Linked DNA regions of Homo sapiens: all the other regions are linked to region 3. The links are contacts of gene promoters, found by promoter capture Hi-C in human tissues and cell types (Jung and others, 2019). All regions are on one chromosome and are shown on one strand. Each heading gives the region's core, a stretch centred on a gene start or on the middle of the fragment in contact. The rest is flanking DNA. Distances are from core to core; before and after follow the strand shown.

Region 1 (3,260 bases), core at 460-2,959, 520 kb before region 3:
AGATTCTACAAAGAGTGTTTCTAATCTGCTGAATCAAGAGAACAGTTTACCTAAGTGAGATGATTGCACACATCACAAACAGTATCACAAAGAGATTCTTTTTAGGATTTTTCTGGGAATATTCTATTTTTCACCATAGGCCTCCATGGGCTCCCAAATATCTCTTCACACATCCTACATCTAAAGTGTTTCCAACCTGCTGAATCAAAATAAAAGTTTAAATCTGTGAGGTGAATCCAGACATCACAAAGCAGTTTCACAGATAGATTCCTTCTAGTTTTTATCCGGGGATATTCACTTTTCCACCATAGGTCTCAATGGGTTCCCAAATGTCCCTTCACAGATTCTACAAATAGAGTGTTTCCAACTGCTGAATCAAAGGAAATGTTTAACTCTGTGAGATGAACCCACACATCACAAAGCAGTGACACAGATACCTTCCTTCTAGTTTTTATTTGAGATATTCTTTTTTCACCATAGGCCTCAATAGGCTTGTAAATGTCAATTTGCAGATTGTACCAAAAGATTTTTACCAACCCACTGAATTAAAAGAGAGGTTTAACTGTGTGAGGTGAATCCAAACATCACAAAGCATTTCCACAGATAGCTTCTTTCTAATTTTTATCTGGGGATAATCAGATTTTCACCACAGGTCTCAGTGTGCTCCCAAATGTTTCTACAGAGTGCTTCCAACCTGCTGAATCAAAAGAAATGTTTAACTCTGTCAGTTGAATCCACACATCACAAAGCAGTTTCTCAGATAGCTTGTTTCTACTTTTTAAATAGAGACATTCCATTTTTAAAAAACATGCAACAAAGGGCTTTCAAATGCTCCTTTGTAGATTCTATGAAAAAAGTGTTTCCAAGCCACTGAATCAATAGAAATGTTTAACTCTGTGAGATGAATCCACCCATTAGAGCACAGTTTCACAAATAGCTTCTTTCTGGTTTTTATGTGGGGATATTTGGTTTTTCATTACAGGCCTCAATGTGCTCCCAAATGACCCCTCACAAATTGTACAAAAAGAATGCTTTTATCTGGCAATATTCGATTTTTCACCATACACCTCAATGGGCTTCCAAATGTCCCTTCGCAGATTCAACAAAAACAGTGTTTCCAACCTGCTGAATCAAAGCATATGTTAACTTGGTGAGATGAATGTGCAAATCAAAATGCAGTTTCACAGATTCTTTCTAGTTTTTTTCTGGGAACATTCGGTTTTTCACCATAGGCCTCAGTGGGCTCTTAAATGTCAATTTGCAGATTCTACAAAAATAGTGTTTCCAACCTGCTGAATCAACAGAAAGGTTTAACTCTGTGAGATGAATGCACACATCACAAAGCAGTTTCACAGATAACTTCTTACTAGTTTTTATCTGGGGATGTTTGGTTTTTCACCATAGGCCTCAATGGGCTCCTAAATGTAAATTTGCATATTCTACAAATAGATTGTGTCCAACCTGCTGAATAAAAAGAAAGGTTTATTTTTCTGTGGTGAATCCACACATCACCACTATAAAAAGAGTGTTTCCAACCTTCTGAATTAAAAGCAAGGTTTAACTCTTTGATATGAATTTACACATCACAAAGCAGTTTCACTGACAGCTTCTTTCTAGTTTTTTTTCTGTTACTCACCATTGGTCTCAATGGGCTCCCCAGTGTTCCTATGCAGATTCTACAAAAGAATGTTTCAAACCTGCTAAATCAAAAGAAAGATTTAACTCAAGGAGATGAATTCACACATCACAAAGCAGTTTCACAGATAGCATCTTTCTAGTTTCTATCTGGGCATATTCAGTTTTTCATCATAGAATTCAATGGGATCCCTAATGTCTTTTTGCAGATTCTATAAAAAGTGTGTTTCCAACCTGTTGAATCAAAAGAAAGGTTTAACTCTGTGAGATGAATCTATACATCACAAAGCAGTTTCACAGATAGCTTCTTTGTAGTTTTTATGTGGGGTTATTCAGTGTTTCACCAAAGGCCTCAGTGGGCTCCTAAACGATTCTTCACAGATTCTACAAAAAAAGTTTCCAACCTGCTGAATCAAAAGAAAGGTTTATCTCTGTGAGATGAACGCACACATCACAAAGCACTTTCACAGGTAGGTTTTTTCTACTGTTTCTCTGGGGATATTCAATTTTTCACCATAAGCATTATTTGGCTCCCAGTTGTCCATTCATAGATTCTAAAAAAAGAGTGTTTCCAACTTGTGGAATGAAAAGAAAGGTTTAATTCTGTGAGAGAAACCCACACATCACAAAGCACTTTCAAATACTGCTTCTTTCTAGTTGTTATCTGGGGATATTCAGTTTTTCACCATAGGTCTCAATGGGCTATCAAATGTCCCTTTGCAGATTTTACAAAAAGTTTTTCCAACTTGCTGAATTTAAATAAAAGTTTATCTCTGTGAGATGAATCGACACATCACAAAGCAATTTCACCAATACTTTTCTACCAGTTTTTTATGAGGATATTTTGTTTTTCAACATAGGCCTCAATGGGCACCAAATTGTCCCTCTGTAGATTCTACAAAAAGAGTGTTTGCAACCTACTGAAACAAAAGAAAGGTTTAACTATGTGAGACGAATGCACACGTTGCAAAGCAGTTTAACTGATAGCTTCTTTCTCATTTTTATCTGGAGATATTTTGTTTTTCACCACAGTCCTCATTAGGTTCCCAAATATCCCTTCACAGATTCTACAAAAAGAGTATTTCTAACATGCTGAATCAAAAGAAAGGTTTAACTCTGTCACATGAAGCCACACATCACAAAGCAGTTTCACAGATGGCTTCTTTCTAATTTTCCTCTGGGGATATTGTTTTTTTCACCCTAAGCTTTAATGGGCCCCCATTGTCCCTTCACAGATTCTACAAAAAGAGTGTTTCCAAACATTCGAATCAAAAGAAAGTTTTAATCTGAGATGAATCCACACATCTCAAACCACTTTCACAGACAGCTTCTTTCTAGTTGTTATCTGGGGATATTCAGTTTTTCACCATTGGCCTCAAAGGGCTCCCAAATGTCCCTTCACAGATTCTACAAAAAGAGTGTTTCCAACCTGCTGAATCAAAAGAAAGGTTTAACTCTGTAGATGATTGATACATCACAAAGCAGCTTCACAGACAGCTTCTTTGTAGTTTTTCTCTGGGTATAATCGGTTTTTCACCATAGGCCTCACTGGGCTCCCAAACGTCTCTTCACAGATACTACAAAAAGAATGTTTCCAACCTGCTGAATCAAAAGAAAGATTTAAC
Region 2 (3,051 bases), core at 497-2,996, 780 kb before region 3:
CATTTGGGAGCCCATTGAGGCCTATGTGGAAACACTGAATATCCCGAGATAAAAACTAGAAAGAACATATCTGTGAAACTGCTTTGTGACGTGTGAATTCATCTCACAGAAATAATACCTCCTTTTGATTCACCAGGTTGGAAACACTCTAATTGCAGTATCAGTGAAATGTTATTTGGAAGCCCATTGAGACCTATGGTAAAAAACAGAATATTCTCACATAAAAACGAGAAGGAAACTATCTCTGAAACTGCTTTTTGATGTGTGGGTTCATCTGACAGAATTTAGCTTATCATTTCATCCAGCCGGTTGGAAACAATCTTTATGTAGAATCTGCAAAGGGACATTTAGGAGCCCATTGAGGCCTATAGATGAAAACAGAATATCCCCAGATGAAAACTAGAAGGAAGCTATCTGTGAAATTGTTTTGTATTGTATGGATTCATCTCATGGACTTAAACCTTTCTTTTGGTCCAGGAGGTTGAAGACACTCCTTTTGGAGAATCTATGAAGAAACATTTGGGAGCCCTTTGAGGCCTATGAGGAAAAACAAAATATCCCCAGATAAAAACTGGAAAGAAGCAATCTGGGAAACTTCTTTGTGATGTGTGGATTCATCTCACAGAGTTAAACTTTTCTTTTGATTCAGGAGGTGGGAAACACTCCTTTTGGAGAATCTGTGAATGGACTTTGAGAGCCCATTGAGGCCTATGAGAATAAAGTGAAAACCCCAGGATAAAAACTACAAAGGACCTATCTGTGAAACTGCTTTGTGAGGTGTGAATTCTCAAAGAGTTAAACCTCTGTTTTGATTCAGCATATTGGAAATACTGTTTTTAAAGAACCTGCAAAGAAATATTTGGGAGCTCATTGAGGCCTATATGGAAAAACTGAATATACCCATATGAAAACTAGAAAGAGCTACTTGTGAAACTGTTTTGTGATGTGTAGATTCATCTCACAGACTTAAAACTATCTTTTGATTAAGCAGGTTGGAAACACTCTTTTTGTAGAATATGCAAAGGGACATTGAGGACTACGAGGAAAAACTGAATATCCTCATATAAAAACTAAAAATAATCTTTCAGTGATATTGCTTTGTGATGCGTGGATTCATCTCACAGAGTTAAGCATTTCTTTAGATTCAGCAGGTTGTAAACAGTCTTCTTGGGGAATCCTCAAAGGGACATTTGGAATCCCATTGAGGCCTATCTGGAAAAACTGAATATCCCTAGATAAAAACTAGGGAGAAGCTAGAACTCGTCACTGCTATATATCATGTCAAAAGACTCATGAGTTCTCCTTCACTCATAAATCCTTTGTCTCATCCCTTCCTAACCCTCCCATCTGCTCTAAGAAGAGAGAGCTTGTAAAACAATAAATTGGGTGGAGTCCAAGAGCTCTGGGCTGTGAGCAAGCCACTGATGCTCTGGTCTCCTGTACCTGCCTTTTCAATGCTTATTTTTTCTGTTTCTAATCCAAACAGATTTTACAAAAAGGGTGTTTCCAAGCTACTGAATGAAAAGAAAATTTAACACTGTGAGATGAATCCACATATCCCAAAGCAGTTCCACAGATAACTTTATTCTAATTTTTATCTGGGGATATTCAGTTTTTCTTCTAAGGTCTCTATGGCACCAAAATATCCCTATGCAGATCCTCCAAAAAGAGTGTTTTCAACCTGCTGAATCAAAAGAAAGGTTTAACTTTGTCAGATGAATCCACACATCACAAAGCAGTTTCACAGAAATCTTCTTTCTAGTTTCTATCTGGGGATATTCTGCTTTTCCCCATAGGCAACAATGTACTCCCTAATGTCCTTTCACAGGTTCTCCAAAAAGAGTGTTTCCAACCTGCTGAATCAAAGAAAGATTTAACTCCATGAAATAAAACCACACATGAAAAAGAAGTTTCACAGCTAGCTTCTTTCTTTATTGGGGGATATTTGCTTTCTCTCTGTAGACCTCAAAGGGCCCTCAAATGTTTGTTCACAGATTCTAAAAAGAGAGTGTTTCCAACCTGCTGAATCAAAAGAAAAATGTAGCTCCATGAAGTGAATTCACACATCACAAAGCAGTTTCAAAAATAGCTTCTTTCTGTTTTTTATCTTTGGACATTTGGTTTTTCCCCATAGGCCTCAATGGGTGCACAATTTTTTTTTCACAGATATCCAGAAATAGTGCTTTCAACCTGCTGAATCAGTAGAAACGTTTACCTTTGTGAGATGAATCTACACATCACAAAGCGTTTTCACAGAAAGCTTCTTTCTAGATTTATCTGGGGATATTCAGTTTTTCCCCATAGGTTTCAGTGGGGTCCCAAAAGTACCATGGCAGATTCTACAAAAAGAGTTTCCAGCCTGCTGGTTAAAACAAAGGTTTAACTATGTGAGATGAATCAACATATCACAAAGCAGTTTCACAGGTATCTTTATTCTAGTTTTTATCTGGGGATATTCTGTTTTTCCCCATTAGCCTCAATGGGCTCCCAAAAGTCCCTTCACAGATTTTCCAAGAATAGTGTTTCCAACCTGCTGAGTCAACTAAGAAATTTAACTATGAGATAGGAATGCAGACATCACAAAGCAGTTTCACACATTGCTTCTTTATGGTATTTATTCATGTATATTCATTTTTCCCCCGTGGTGATCAATGGGCTGCAAAATGTTCCTTTACACATTCTCCAAAAAAAAGTGTTTTCCTGCTGGGGAAGAAGAAAGATTTAACTCTGTGAGATTAATGCACATATCAAGAAGCAGTTCAACAGATAGCTTTTTTCTAGTTTTTATCTGGGGATATTCAGTTTTTCTCCTTAGGCCTCAATGGGTTCTGAACTGTTCCTTTTCAGATTCTCCAAAAAGAGATTTTACAACCTGCTGAATCAAAAGAAATGTTTAACTCTGTGAGATGAATCCTCACATCACAAAACAGTTTGACATATAGCTTCTATCTAGTTTTTACCTTGGGATAATTGATTTTTCTTCATAAGCCTCAAAGGGTTCCCAAAAGTCTCTTTGCAGATTCTTGAAAAATAGTGTTTGCAACCTGAGGA
Region 3 (3,199 bases), core at 498-2,997:
ACAGATAAGACAACTGAGTCAGAGGTGAAGTAATATATCTAAGGTCACTGAACTATACACAGAAGAGCCAAGTTTTCTGGCCTCAAGCCCATTCTTCCCCTAAATACCGCAATGCTCGGGAGTTGAACTAAATCAAACCCAGCGTGGTCAGCTAGGGGCTGGGCTGGGGTACCCTGGGACTGCCGGTTTCTTAAAGAAGACTTCAGCCCACCTCAACCCCGATTTGCTTTTTTGTTTCACAGGCATATTCTGGAGTAGGCCGCCCAGAGCATAGCATGAGGCTGTGTGGCTAAAGGAACTTTCGTGTCCAGAAGTAAGCAAAAACCACTGAAATTTACTGGTCCTGAAAACAGCCTGCACATTAAGGAATAAAGATGGTGGGGCAGGTTGGGCAGAAGAAATTCAGGCACGACTGAAATGCAAAGCATTTCTGACACTGATAGGAAGGCTTATTGATAGAGAAAGGCTTGGGACCCACTGCTCCACATTTACAGCTTAAAAAGAAAAGAAAAGCAAAGGGACAAAACTAGTTTTTACCGACTTACAAGATATTTTCTACAACTAGGGAAGACACAGAGTAATGTCATCCAATACAGTTTAGAGTAGAATTCCATTGCGCCAATAAAGCACAAGGTACATTAAGAGGATTATTTTAAATATTCTGAACGCTTATTTAGCCTTAAGGTTCTATAGCAAAGGCAAAGGGTGGCAAAGACAAGATTATGCAACAAAACAGCGAAATTTTGCTTTCTAAAAAAAAGAGAATATGATTACACTTAACACCTCCTGGCAACAATGATCTCGTGCAGAATAAACACCCAAAGGCAAAGAGCTGAGACAGAGTCCTCGGTCCTTTCTGGTTTTTTTGTTTTTTGTTTTGTTTTGGTTTGGTTTGGTTTTTGTTTTTTTAAACAGAGACAGCCTCTGCCGGACCCAGTAGCTCACGCCTGTAATCCCAGCACTTTGGGAGGCAGAGGCGGGCGGATCACCTGAGGTCAGGCGTTCGAGACCAGCCTGACCAACATGGGGAAACCCCGTTTCTACTAAAAATACAAAAATTAGCCGGGCGTGGTGGCGGACGCCTGTAATCCCAGGAGCCAAGACCGCGCCACTACACTCCAGCCTGGGCGACAGAGCGAGACTCCGTCTCAAATAATAATAATAATGATAAAGTAATAATAATAGAAACAGCCTCTCACTCTGGCCCCCAGGCTGAAGTGCAGTGGCGCGATTTCGGCTCACTGAAACCTCCGCCCCCGCCGGGTTCAAGCATTCTCCCGCCTCAGCCTCCGGAGTAGATAAGACTATAGGCGGCGCCACCGCGCCCGGCTAAGTGCTTTTTTACGGAGACAGAAGTTCCGCCATGTTGCCCAGGCTGCTCTCGCCTGAGCTCACGCGATCCTCCCGCCTCGGCCTCCCAAAGCGCTGGGATTACAGGCTGGAGCCACCTCGCCGGGCCCTTCTCTGGTTCTTTAACGTCCCGCTACCGCGCAGGGGTGGACGCGGAGATAGGGGCTGGGCGCGGTGGACACGGCCGCTCAGGCCCAGCGCAGCCTCCTAGGGAGCCTCCGGACAGGCCGCGGGCAGGCGGCCGGGGCTGCGGGGGGTGCGGCCCAGGCCACGTACAGGGTCCCCCGGGAAACCCAGCTGCACGCCCCCTCGCCCCTTCGCCCTCTCACCCCTCGCCGCAGCACCTACCTGCAGCCCAAGCCTCTGCGGCTCCTGCCACCCCGGGCCAGCACGCACTGGGCCTACTGCGCTTGCGCGTTCGGAAGCGCGTCCTGGGCGGGTGAGCGTGGCGCTGCTGCCCCCTGGCGTCCTCCTCCGGCCGTGCACTGAAGCCGGAGCGAACGCCGCGGCGGTACCAGCGCGCACCTACCCAGTCTCCCTGTCTGGCTTCTGCTTCCCTAACTTGGGAGAACGATTTTGTGTTGACCGACTATTGCTTCAGCCTGGAGCCAGGCTCATGCAGAGCAGCTGTCAGATCTAGACGCACTGCGAGGCCTTCCAAAGCGTAGTCCTCAGACCCGCGGCATCTGCAGGGACCTTGCTGGAAAGGCTGATTCCCAGCTCCGGCCCAGACCCGCCACTCGGGGACCCAGATGCCTGAAGTTGGACAATCGCTCTGTAAAAGAAACTGTGGGGCTTAGCCTAGACGCAGTAAAGCTGAGCTGCACACATCAAGCGCAGCAGACAAGACCTTGGCAAGCCTCCGCGGAGGGGCAGGACTGGGCAAAGGCGGGGAAGTCCGTCGAGGGCCGGCCAGGAGCCCTGCCGGGAGCCCAACACGCACTCGGGCGCTTGCTCCGGGAAACCGAAAGGGAGGCTTGCAGCATCGAAGTCAGCTGGGTCATGGAACGTCTAGGTTGTGTACATCGGAAGCGTTAGCTGCTTCTACACTGACACACTGCGAAAGTCCAGAATCAAGACAGTAACATGGTGTGGGTTAAAAAAACTGAGCCGGTACTAGCTATCCAAACAGTATTAAAATTAACAGAAACGTTTGCCTATCACATGGACAAACAGCGGTAATACCTCCTGTCGTTACAGTAGAGTCTGAAAGTTTCCTCACACATACAAGTGAGTGTAAATTGGAATTCCTCCTACGTGCCCTAGCAAATCCATTTCTAGGAATTTATCCTTCAGAAATAACGTCTGTGGCCGGGCGCCGTGGCTCATGCCTGTAATCCCAGGACTTTGGGAGGCCGAGGTGGGCGGATCACGAGGTCAGGAGACCGAGACCATCCTGGATAACACGGTGAAACCCCGTCTCTACTAAAAATACAAAAAATTAGCCGGGCATGGTGGCGGGCGTGAGAATGGCGTGAACCCGGGAGGCGGAGCTTGCAGTGAGCCGAGATCGCGCCACTGTACTCCAGCCTGGGTGACAGAGCGAGACTCCGTCTCAAAAAAAAAAAAAAAAAAAAAGAAAAAGAAATAATATGTCTGCAAGATGTATGCACAAGAGATCTTGCTGAAGCATTGCTGATAAAAGATATTTATAATAGAGAAAAAAAGAAACCTGAATGTATAACAATAGGGGTTTCTGAAAGAAATTATATTACATCCACATAGCCATGAAAAATACTAACGGGTGCACAGTTTCAGTGTGAGAAGATGGTAAAGTCCTGGAGATGGATGGGGGTGATGGTTGCACAACAGTGTGAATATACACCAATAAATTGGGTGGAGGCCGAGA

The links. Contacts are between HindIII fragments. The study calls those that stand out against the background at their distance.
Region 1: a fragment that was not itself captured here is called in contact with the fragment with the promoter of POMK in region 3 in 2 of the 25 tissues and cell types used here (mesendoderm cells and thymus).
Region 2: a fragment that was not itself captured here is called in contact with the fragment with the promoter of POMK in region 3 in 2 of the 25 tissues and cell types used here (mesendoderm cells and thymus).

The regions. Positions count from the first base shown.
Region 1 is chr8:43,612,437-43,615,696 of GRCh38, reverse strand. No RefSeq gene overlaps it. Among named protein-coding and RNA genes, the nearest start is that of POTEA, 320 kb to the right of the region's middle. The HindIII fragment of the contact is 4,516 bases long and covers 1-3,260 here.
Region 2 is chr8:43,873,720-43,876,770 of GRCh38, reverse strand. No RefSeq gene overlaps it. Among named protein-coding and RNA genes, the nearest start is that of POTEA, 580 kb to the right of the region's middle. The HindIII fragment of the contact is 6,113 bases long and covers 1-3,051 here.
Region 3 is chr8:43,092,063-43,095,261 of GRCh38, reverse strand. POMK (protein O-mannose kinase) reads right to left here and starts at 1,747. Exons shown (of 5, transcript NM_032237.5): 1 at 1,699-1,747. RefSeq lists a silencer at 1,510-1,719 and enhancers at 971-1,876, 1,877-2,783. The HindIII fragment of the contact is 5,704 bases long and covers 1-3,199 here.